2 separate regions of the Homo sapiens genome follow, and region 1 is linked to region 2. The links are contacts of gene promoters, found by promoter capture Hi-C in blood cells and fetal thymus (Javierre and others, 2016). All regions are on one chromosome and are shown on one strand. The core of a region is centred on a gene start or on the middle of the fragment in contact, and the rest is flanking DNA. Distances in the headings are between cores, read along the strand shown.

What was found. Contacts are between HindIII fragments. The CHiCAGO score rates a contact against its expected background, and 5 or more counts as called.
Region 1: a contact is called between a fragment that was not itself captured here and the fragment with the promoter of GPR84 in region 2, in 12 of 17 cell types (neutrophils, megakaryocytes, erythroblasts and 9 more). The highest score is 9.8, in neutrophils.

What each region holds. Positions count from the first base shown.
Region 1 is chr12:54,229,849-54,235,840 of GRCh38, forward strand. CBX5 (chromobox 5) reads right to left here. Exons shown (of 5, transcript NM_012117.3): 5 at 1,094-5,992. MIR3198-2 (microRNA 3198-2) reads right to left here and starts at 1,628; the gene lies at 1,549-1,628. The HindIII fragment of the contact is 4,657 bases long and covers 1,918-5,992 here.
Region 2 is chr12:54,362,790-54,368,389 of GRCh38, forward strand. It overlaps GPR84 (G protein-coupled receptor 84), which reads right to left and starts at 1,697. Exons shown (of 2, transcript NM_020370.3): 1 at 1,604-1,697; 2 at 1-1,070. The coding sequence starts at 1,062. The region is part of intron 1 of GPR84-AS1 (GPR84, ZNF385A, ITGA5 and GTSF1 antisense RNA 1); the gene reads left to right. RefSeq lists an enhancer at 1,626-1,715. The HindIII fragment of the contact is 7,569 bases long and covers 683-5,600 here.

The DNA.
Region 1 (5,992 bases), core at 2,996-5,495, 130 kb before region 2:
TCTGAATGAACGCCATGCAGGCACAGCCCCTCACTGAGGGAAACAAAAACCAAGACATAGTTTAGGAATACAAGCGTGGGTGTCAAAACCCTGGAGTTGTGCTTTCCAGTGGGCCTGAGACAGAGACAAAGTGACATGATGTTTAGAGAGCAAGAAAGAGATCGAAAGGGAAGAGGGCAAGCAGTCTCAGGCTTCCATGGTAGGAAATAAATAATGTCCAGAAGGGTCTGGCTCTGAAGTGGACCAAATGGCTCTCCTGTCCCATGTTTATGAGGTCATGGACCATTAAGCCAGCCAACCTACAGATGTCTTCATAAGACTTTACGAGATTAGACTGGGGAGACCCTATAACTCAGCAAGAAAGGAAAACAAGAGGGGAGAATTGCAGGTAAGAGATGGTAGAAACAAGTGCTCCGCTCCAGAGGCCTCACATATCAGTGGGAGGATATCTGGGTTTGGTGACCCCTTCATCTTCCTCACTTCTCTCTTCTGTGAGTTTCTGCCTATCTCCATTAGATTCAGGGCTACATCAGGCTTATATTATTCGATAATTTCTTGATTATCCACATACTTTCCTCCTCCTAACTTCCAACTGACCTCACACCATGTTCCTGACCTGCAAGCCTTCCATCCTCAGAGAAGTTTCTTTGGTATTTGTGAAGCAAATCAGAAAGATAAAATACAAAGTTTACAAATTCACATATTTTCAAACCTGATTTAGACTGCATTTGCTTGATGTGGTATTCCATAAGTTCTAATAGCCATGAGATGACTCTTCCAGGGATCCCTAGGTTGCTGAAGCCTAATATTTATTCTCTGAACCATTAGGAGCAGAGAAGAGCATGGAAACCAGGAAAGGTACACACTGAACCAGTTAAGGAAATAAGAGTAGGAAACAGGATACGCATTATCTTATTTCCTCAGGCTTGCGCCAACCTGTGGTTATTTGCAGAAAGTCAGAGACCAATAATCCTTAGAAAAGAAGCCCATGTTCTCCAAGTCTTGTTGCTCTTTCAGAAATTGAGCTGACACTCCAGGGCCCAAATTAAAGAAGGGGCATAAGACCCAGATCTTTAAACCACCACTCAGAATCCATATTTGAAAAGCAACCATTTATTAGAACCAATACAAGAGTATGAAAAGGGGGAAAAGAGGAGGGTAGAAGAGGGGGAGAGAATGAGGTCTGCATCAGATGTCAGTTATGGAAACACATAAATGCTTACTTTTTAAACATTTACATTTAAAAGGTGAACATATATATAGACCACTTATACTTTAAAAAAAAAATCAAAAGCAGACATGTTTGGCTGAAATAAAACCAAGAAACACAGCTAAAACTCCCCCATAAACCTAAAAGTCCATGGAGAATTCAATTTCTCATTTCCATTCAGAAATCTGGCTACAAAGTGATTTGTTTGCTATTTGGGACAGTACAGAGTGCTGAAAGAAACCCAGCTCTTGAGTCTCTTAGATCCCATCCTGTAGGAAGTGGTGGGAAAGCCAGCGGACCATGGGCAAGTCAACTCCTGGCTACTTGGCAGGGAGTCAGACTGTGCTCTCTCCATTCCCCAGGACTCCACAGAACCATCTGGTACTGCTAGTGCTGGGTGAACAGTGAGAGCAGAGTCCACAAAACACAGAGAACCAGAATGTGACCGCAAGGAGCCAGGACCTTGTGCTTTTTCATGGATTACAAATCTAGGGCCAAGGAGAGGGAAAGCAGAAAGAGCCCTATTGGGAAGAGGAGCTGGCTGCGCCCCTAAACTGAGATGGAAAGAGTAAGGCTCTTGAGCCCACACCTGGCCAAGTAGAAATAGTGTCCAAAGTTTTCTCAAACCAGAGGGAAAAAAGGTCAAGGTTAGGTTCAGACTGCAGACACTAAGAGATGACAGATGTTGAATACGGTGAATGGGATGAAGCTTTAAGGATCAATGCCCAATTCTGAGTGTTATACACATTTCTAGGAAAAATAATTCCAATGTAGCTTTTGGGGGTGGGGGGTGGAAATAAGGTGGTCACATTTATTCAATCAGCTGGTCCCTATGAGGAAGGAGAGGCCCAGGTACAGATACCACAAAGGGGTACAGTGACCCAGCTGTCCTGGGATTGGTTGGGGAGTGGTAAGCAATGACATAAATCAAAACCATTGAGGGTTGCTTTGATCCTGAGACAGTCTGAGTCTGCTTCAAACCCATGGGGAAAGGAACTTTAATCCCCAACCTGCAGAGAGAAATACGCAGTAGCATCCCTGCCTCACGATTCCCTAATCCAATGCTCTTGAATCTGAAATGGCCTCCCTCTGTGAATGCAAGACACAGAAAATCCCAAGTGCCTTCCCCAACAACATCCTAAGTAAGTCTGGACTAGTAAGATTCCAACATTCATGAAAACACTGTCAACATCTGAACTAGCAGCTTTGATGAGGGGTGGGGGGCAGAAAATTTGCCGAGTCACTAAGTAGTTCCAGTCTTGGAGACAGCTCAGTGAGGACCAAAGCCTGTGTGTCAGGCTTAAACTCTGGCTCAAGACATCCTCCACAGAGGACCCTGAAGTATTCTATTAACTTTGATTTACAATGCCTCACAACAACACCCCTGTGAGGTAGGTCAGTATTATTAACCCCATTTGACAGATGGGGAACTGAGGCATTGAAAGAAGTGACTTGCCCAAGGTCAACCATTATCAATCAGTTGAGGAGGTGGGCACACAGAGTCAGCATCCACTCGATTCTTGTTCCATTTCCCAGAGCATTTTACCTCTCAGAGTGTACTTGGGAGCAGAGGGAAGTTGGCAGGATACACCTCATTCCACAAACTAGATTAATTCAATAACTGAAGGGTATTAACTGAGGGCCTATTATTTATCTAGTATAATGTGAGGAATCTTGGAAAAATGAACTGCTTCTGAAAGTCATGTTATAGATGTTTTGAAAATAAAATTACATCTTTAACATTAAGGACATGAATTATTTTGTAAAGAAATATTCACTTTATCTTAGGAGGTGAAGGACTAAGTCACACTGATTTCTCAGAGTTTTATACTGAGTAACCTGAATTCCTAAAATCCAGAAAGCAAGATCACATTCCAACAGAAACAATGAATAAGAACCTTTTCCCCAGTGGTGGTTCTTGGTAGCGCTCTTATAAAGCTGCAAGTTGGTGGCGTGGGAATCCTAGCACCACAAAACACCCTCTTACTACATCACATCCCTCCCCACAATACCCAGAGGGCTGCATTTTTCCAACCTTTCTGCCTCAGCTCAACTTCAAGAGTTACAGCATCTTCAAAAACACCTCAAGGGTAAGGATACAAATGGTGACCCCTGCTTTTCTATTCAGGGAGAGGGGATGAAAATATTCTCTGTAACTAATCATATAGACTCTTGAATTCTTTCCTCCTGTGAGAGATGTAACTCTTTAACAAAAAAAAGGTAGAAGAAAAAACAGTTATGTCTTTTCTCCCCCTTTGGATTTACTTTGGATTCTGGTAGAAATCATTATGTCTCTTATCCTAAACTGAGGAGGTGAGGGGTGAGGGTGACACGAGACAAACACCAAACTCACCACCAGCCCTCGTTTAGAATCCAATCCTAAAGCTACCGGAAACCAGAACACTGACTTGAGCCTTAAGAGTGTTGTGACATGATTAAACTGTCTTTTCAGGTGTTCTCAAAGAATTTCTAGGCAGAAAGCCTCTCCTTTCTTCCATACCTCTTCACAGCAGCCAGTGTAGGAAGTCCCCACATACAACAGAAACTCAAAAGATGATTTATCAACACATACAGTAAAATGTTCACTAGGGGCCGGGTGCGGTGGCTTATGCTTGTAATCCCAGCACTTTGGGAGGCTGAGGCACGTGGATCACTTGAGCTCACGAGTTGGAGACCAGCCTGGGCAACACAGGGAGACTGTCTCTACAAAACATTTTTTAAATAATAAAATTAGCCAGACACCGTGGTGTGCGCCTGTAGTCCCAGCTGCTTGGGAGGCTGAGGCAGGAGGATCATTTGAGCCCAGGAGATTGAGGCTGCAGTGAGCTGTAATAAAGATACTGTGGCCGGGTGCTGGCTCACGCCTGCAATCCCAGCACTTTGAGTGGCCGAGGCAGGCGGATCACAAGGTCAGGAGTTCAAGACCAGCACGGCCAAGATGGTGAACCCTGTCTCTACTAAAAATACAAAAATTAGCCGGGCATGGTGGCAGGCGCCTATAATCCCAGCTGCTCAGGAGGCTGAGGCAGAGAACTGCTTGAACCCGGGAGGCGGAGGTTGCAGTGAGCCAAGATCACGCCACTGCACTCCAGCCTGGGCAAAAGAGCAAGTTTCCATCTCAAAAAAAAAAAAAAAAAAAAAAAAAAAAGGTTCAATATGGATACTCTAGGTACAGGAACCATTCCAAGACCTAAATAGATTTTTTTTTTTTTCCTCACTGATAGCTGATCACATTAAACAGGTACAGGTGCTAAGAAAGTTTAAGACTGATCTTTTGGCAATGACAGTTTAGGTTAACTCTGTTTGGAATTCCTAAAAATAAAAAGAAATCCCTTAAAAAAGGCTGACAAACTGACCACTTGGCCTTGAATCGACTGTTAGGGTCACACCTGCCAATGCCAGGGGACATCACAAAAAAATAGAGAATGCCAAGATAAAAAGTTCACTGCATTCAATTTGGCCTAATTTCTTGATAATAGTTTCCTATTAGATTTTCCGATTAATACTGATGGCTCTTACCTAGGCTGTGATAATTAGGTTTTGATCTATTGTGACATTAATGATCACAATCAGTTGACTTTGAAATTGTCTTAATTAATGGCTCTTTCCTTGTCAGCTTTTGCCTCCAGTGCAGGATTCATTCCCTTCCCCACTGCCTTGTTTTAACTCCTTCTCTTACTGACCTCAGAAACAAATAGCATTGGAGGATCACTTTCTTCCCATAAAACAAGACTTTAAACTATTTTAAAACATTTCTCTTGACAGAGGAGCAATATGAGATGATGTTAGATGAAATGAGGATCAGAATGAAAAGGCAAGAGAACAAGCTGTCAATGAACAGGAAAAATTCCATCTTAGAAAACAACCAAAGTCAAGCACAATGTTAAAGTGACAAGTTGAAGTAACTCTAAAAAGACAAGATGAGGTAGATTAAAATCCAAGAAAGTCAGCACAAGCAAAAAGAAACCAGAATTGTTTTTATGAAACTATCTAAAAAACTTCACACTTTAACTTTCCAGAGCAGTTACTCTAATTCCTGGGAATTCTGACTTCCAAAGTTAGTCAACTCTCAATTATCCAGGCAGAAATAAATATCTTTTTCTTGTGGTCATCCATGGGTCAGAATCGACAACATCCTTACGATCAGACTGTTTCTTAACCCAGCTACGCTTCGATGATTAAATCTGAGACTCAGATTTAATATACAAGGTATATGTATTTCTGGCAAAGGTTTCCACATAACTGATACAATTCTCTGCTTAGAAATCACCCTCTCGGCCCGGCGGTGGCTCACGCCTGTAATCCCAGCACTCTGGGAGGCCGAGGTGGGTGGATCATGAGGTCAGGAGATTGAGACCATCCTGGCTAACAAGGTGAAACCCCGTCTCTACTAAAAATACAAAAAATTAGCCGGGCGTGGTGGCCGGCGCCTGTAGTCCCAGCTCCTCGGGAGGCTGAGGCAGGAGAATGGCGTGAACCCGGGAGGTGGAGCTTGCAGTGAGCCGAGATTGCGCCACTGCACTCCAGCCTGGGAGACAGAGCAAGACTCCGTCTCAAAAAAAAAGAAATCACCCTCTCTCCAGTATTGAATAAAACTGCACTGCTCAGAGTAGATGCTCAGGTATTAACAGATGTGCTCCAAGACTTCTCTTTAGAAAATCTCTTGTCATTGGAAAGCATGTCCGTTTTAGGCTTAAAGGCAGTTAAGTCTCATGTTCATTCCTCCAAAAGGGATGAGAAATTGAAAAAGGTGTGAGCAACTCTGGTAAAGTGTCCATGAGG
Region 2 (5,600 bases), core at 447-2,946:
AAGCATGTGGACCACCCGGGGAGCCTGGACTCTGGCATCCAGAATGTTGAGCAGCAAGAAGGGGATGTAGCTCAGGGCAAAGCAGAGGAACACAGCAAAACACATTCGAGTCACCTTCCCAAATTCCGATGAAGAATCCGGAGCTCTTCTGGCTCCTTTAATTGGCTGGGCTTTGGCAGATGCTTCTGGAGGGCTTTTCTCTGCCATCTGCTTAGCTCTCTTGCTGTTGATCTGGTCTCCCACTTCTGATGAGTCCCCTTCCAGGGTCTGGGTGGTGGCAGCACTGACTGGCTCAGATGAAATCCCCTCACTGGGTCCTCCTGATGCTAACCTGCTGTCCAGCTCCTGGAAACGACCAGGCATGGCCTCATCAGTCCTGGCCACATGGTTGGAGTGGATGCTTGCCTGTCGCAACTTGTATTGGTCCAGTGCCTGTGCTGCTCGTTTGACCTGGCGGTGGATGAGGCAATAGAAGATGCCAACACTGCTGAGCCCAAGCACAAAGTAGATGCCCATGAGGATGGTGGTGTAAGGCCGGCCTCGGATGCGGTCAAAGCTGCAGGTGCAGACTACAGGTACCAGGATATAAATAGGCCAGAGGGGAGCAAAGCTGGCCACGCCCACAACCCAGGTGCTCACCAGTGCCAGCACTATCCCCTTGGCACTGAAAACTTGGGGAAAAAGCTTAGGGTGGGCAATGAGGAGGTAGCGTCCCAGTGCGATGAGGCAGAGGGTCAGGATGGAGACAGAATTGGAGGCAAAAAGGAGGAGCCCAAATACCCTGCAGAAGGTGGCACCGGTGCGCCAGTGCAGGTGGAGGTAGGTGTCCACAGAGAAGGGCTGAAGGAGCGTGCAGTAGAGGAGATCAGCCAGTGTGAGGTTGGCTATGAGCAGGTTGAATCGGGTACGGAGCTTGGGCTGGATGGCCAAGGCCAGTAGGGTGAGCACATTGCCCACGGTGCCTGTCACAGCCACCACCACCCCCCAGCTAACTGCAACATAACGATAGCCCAGCACAGACTCATGGTAGCAGGAGAAGTTGGCGTCAGAGCTGTTCCACATGATAGAGGCTAAAGAGGCAGAGGGTGGAAGAGGAAGAGGGAATCAGAACCTAGCATTCAACTTAGATCTCTTGAACAGTTCTGGGACCCTGGACATCTAAACTGTTCCTGGACCTCACCTTAATTCAGTATCCTCCTGAACCATTCCCAGGCCTCTTCATCTCAAGATCCCTAACTCTCTCCTTAGGTTCTCTTAGTCCTTTCCCATTCTCAAATATTTCCCCAAGTTTTTATCTAAATATCTCTTGCCTAAATATCTTAGTCTTATTCTGCTCCAAACCTCAGTCCTCTTCTATATCCATCCCGCTGCTCTCAGTAAACCCAGTGCCCTCCAACTTTTTTAATTCCTTCCCCATCCCCAAAGACCCCCAGGAGTCCCCTCTCTCTATTCAGCATCGTGTATTCAGGATCCTCTCTGTATTCAGTTCCCTCTGCTCCTTTCCACTACACACACATATAGGCTTTAGTCATTTCTGTTTGTTACCACCTGGGAGATGAGGAGACCAAGAAGGTAAAAGTATACCCACAACAAAAGTGCTTACCTGAGTTTCTCAGCCTTCAATTCTTTCTATAATGGAAGAAGTTCAACTCACCCAAAGAGCAGTCCTTTCTGGTGGACAGTTAGGCTTCAAGCAGGAGACATCCTGCTCTTATGTATCCTATTATAGTCCACTGAAAGAATAAGAAACTCCCCCATTACCCAATCCCAGCCACTTCCTTCACCACCTCCGGTCCTACTCATTTTGCTTCGGCTAGTGAAATCTAGGCTTCTCTGTTGAAAGTCCCCCGCTACTTACCTCAGAGTGGTTTCACTCTTCCTTTCTCCTTCCTGAAACCCAAACTCTGTTTTCTTCCCCTCTTTGCATGGCAGAACTCATCTGTAAGATCATTGCCAAGAATTGCTAGGGCACGGAGTCAGAGCATCAGAACATTTGGGCCACTCCTCAAAGGGCCAAAAGATAAGACCAAGTTCCAGGAGCAACTTTAGGTACCCCCAGAAGCCTTGGGTTTGTTTCAGAGGAGCACTACCTTTCTTGTCTCCACGGCTTAGACATGGTTCAAGTCAGAGGGACCCATGTGACACCCTAGCACATTTGAGAAACCAAGTCAGATGAAGAAAAGTGGGGAATGAGGCATCCAGAATTCTGGTTTCATTCTCCTCAAGGGATCAGGGTCCTGTTCAATCATTCATTTATCCATTTACCCAACAACTTAGTACTGAGTGCCTACTATACACCAGACTCTGATCTAGACACTGGGGATACAAGAACGTCTGATATATGGCCTTGTGCATAGTCTACTAGGGGAGACAGATACATAAATATGCAAATGCTTAATCGATTCTCCAGAGCAAGGGTGAGTAAACTTCACCCTATGGGCCAAATCTAGTCTGCTGTTTTTGTATAGCCTGTGACCCAATCATGTTTTTTTTCCATTTAAAAATGGTTATATTTTAGGCCAGGTGCAGTGGCTCACGCCCATTATCCCAACATTTTGGGAGGCCAAGGAGGGCAGATCACTTGAGGTCAGGAGTTCGAGACCAGCCTGGCCAACATGGTAAAACCCCGTCTCTACTAAAAATACAAAAATTAGCCAGGCGTGATGGGTGCGCCTGTAATCCCAGCTACTAGGGAGGCTGAGGCAAGAGAATCGCTTGAACCCGGGAGGCGGAGGTTGCTTGCAGTTAGCCAAGATCACATTGCACCACTGCACTCCAGCCTGGATGACAGAGCAAGACTCCGTCTCAAAAAATAAAATAATAAATAAATAAGTAAGTAAAATAAAAATGGTTATATTTTAAATTGTTATATAAGTGCCTATGTAATATCCTCAGTTTTATCTCTTGATTAACACAGTTTAAAATATTTATAATCAGGCCCTTTGAGAAAAAGTTTGCTGAGGCTTGCTTTAAAATACTATATAGGCCTGGCTTGGAGGCTCATGCCTGTAATCCCAATGCTTTGGGAGGCTGAGCTGGGAGGATGACTTCAGGTCAGGAGTTTAAGACCAGCCTGGGCAACATAGTGAGACCCTGTCTTTACAATAAAAAAAAAAATAGCCAGCTGTGGTGATGTGCACCTGTAGTCCCAGCTACTGGGGAGGCTGAGGTGGGAGGATCATTTGAGTCTGGGAGGTCAAGACTACAGTGAGAAAGATTGTGCCACTATACTCCAGCCTGGGTGACACAGCAGGACGTTGTCTCTGAAAAATTAGAAAAACAAACTAACAGGCTGGGCGCAGTGGCTCATGCCTCTAATGCCAGCACTTTGGGAGGCCGAGGCAGGTGGATCATGAGGTCAGGTGTTCGAGACTAGCCTGGCCAACATAGTGAAACCCCGTCTCTACTAAAAATACAAAAAATTAGCTGGGCGTGGTGGCAGGCGCCTGTAATCCCAGGTACTTGGGAGGCTGAGGCAGGAGAATCGCTTGAACCTAGGAGGTAGAGGTTGCAATGAGTCGAGATGGTGCCACTGCACCTCAGCCCGGGCGACAGTGTGAGACTCCGTCTCAAAAACAAACAAACAAAAAACAAACAAAAAATACATCGCTGGGTGCAGTGGCTCACACCTGTAATCCCAGCACTTTGGCAGGCCAAGGCGGGCAGATCACTTGAGGTCAGGAGTTCAAGACCAGCCTGGCCAATATGATGAAACCCCGTCTCTACTAAAAATACAAAAAATTAGCTGGGTGTGGTGGCAGGCACCTGTAATGCCAGCTACTTGGGAGACTGAGGCAGGAGAATCTCTTGAACCTAGGAGGTGGAGGTTGCAGTGAGCCGAGATCGCGCCACTGCACTTCAGCCCAGGTGACAGTGCGAGACTCCGTCTCAAAAACAAACAAAAAACAAACAAAAAATACATGGCTGGGTGCAGTGGCTCACACCTGTAATCCCAGCACTTTGGGAGACCAAGGCGGGCAGATCACTTGAGGTCAAGAGTTCGAGACCAGCCTGGCCAATATGATGAAACCCCGTCTCTACTAAAAATACAAAAATTAGCCAGGCGTGGTGGTGCGCACCTGTAATCCTGGCTACTTGGGAGGCTGAGACAGGAGAATCGCTTGAACCCAGGAGGCGGAGGTTGCAGTGAGCCGAGGTTGCACCACTGCACCCCAGCCTGGGCAACAGAGCAAAAACTCTTTCTCAAAAAACAAAACAAAACAAAACAAAACAACCCAGAATGATATATCAGAGGCTTAGAGAAAAGGAGCATACTATTAAGTAGGAGGTGAGGAAAGGGTTCACAGAGAGGTTACTGAGCTGCATTCTGAATGATGAACAGGAGAGTTTTTTGGGAGATAAGTAGAGGGACATTCTAGACAAAGAGAACAGTATGTGTAGAGGCGCAGAGGTTCAGGTAGAAGCCAACAAAGGGCATGAGGTAGAGAACAACAGAGAAGAGCTTGGAGAGTTGAGCAGGCAGGGTCAAGGGGGACCTTGTGTATCGTGCTAAGGAGCTGGTTTCATGCTGAAGGAGTTGGTGAGATTTGCACTTAGATTGCTGTGAGTAAAGAATGAAGGCGTGCAGCCTGGGAGTGAGCGAAATGGGTAAAGAGGCACTAGTTCAGACGAGAGATAGAATGGCCCTAAGTTAGGGCCAGACCACCTGTACAACTGCATAGGGCCTTGCAGTTTGAAGGGCCTGGTGCTTGGTTAAATGCTCGTCAATCACTGTTTTTAAATTCTTAATACTATACTTTTTGAATAAGGGGCTCTGCTTTTTCATTTTGCACTGGGTCCCACAAATTATGGAGCCAGTCCTGGTTAGGGCAGTGGTTGTGGGAATGGAGGAATGATAAGGATCCATAGGTTGTTAGGAGGTCAAATAGGACTTATTTAGTGATTCATTGGATGAAGAGTTAGGAAGAAGGAGGAACTAGGATAACTTTCTGTTTTCCAGACAGATGGTGGTGCTCTTAATAAGATAGGAAATGTGGGAGGAGGAGCAGGCTTAGGGAAAGGGGTAAATAATGAATTCAGTTTTAAACTAGCAGACTTGAAGTACTTGTGGGGTCTGCTAGGATCCCAGACTCTCTAACCCCAATTTCTTCCAGTCCCTATCTCCTTCCCCACATGTGACCCAGCCCCTGCTTTTCTCTACCCACTCTTCTATAGGGCCTCTCTTGTCCCGCATCCTTCTGAATCCTCCCACCCCTTTTAAAGCTAGATTTACCTGGAAACAAACATGCAAACAAACACCAAAACACTCCTTATTGGGTTCCAATTCTGAACCCACAGTGAACACCCTCCTTTCAGCCTCACAGTTGACAAACCCAGGAGTCCCCCATTCCCCTCTCTTTCCTGTTTAACAGACATCATCCCAACTTCCCTCCTCCTTTCTTCTGCAAGACTGGGAAGTGGGTAGAGTGGGGGAAGTGAGCAGAGATGAAAGTCGGGAGGAACTCACATAGATTCTGGGTTTTGGTTTGGGCTTTTTTGTTTGAACTTCCTGCCTCTCAGTAGGGATAGAGGGGGTCAGGATTACTGGCTGCTCTTGGGAGTGTATGGTTGAACCACATTTTGGAGATAACGGAGAAACC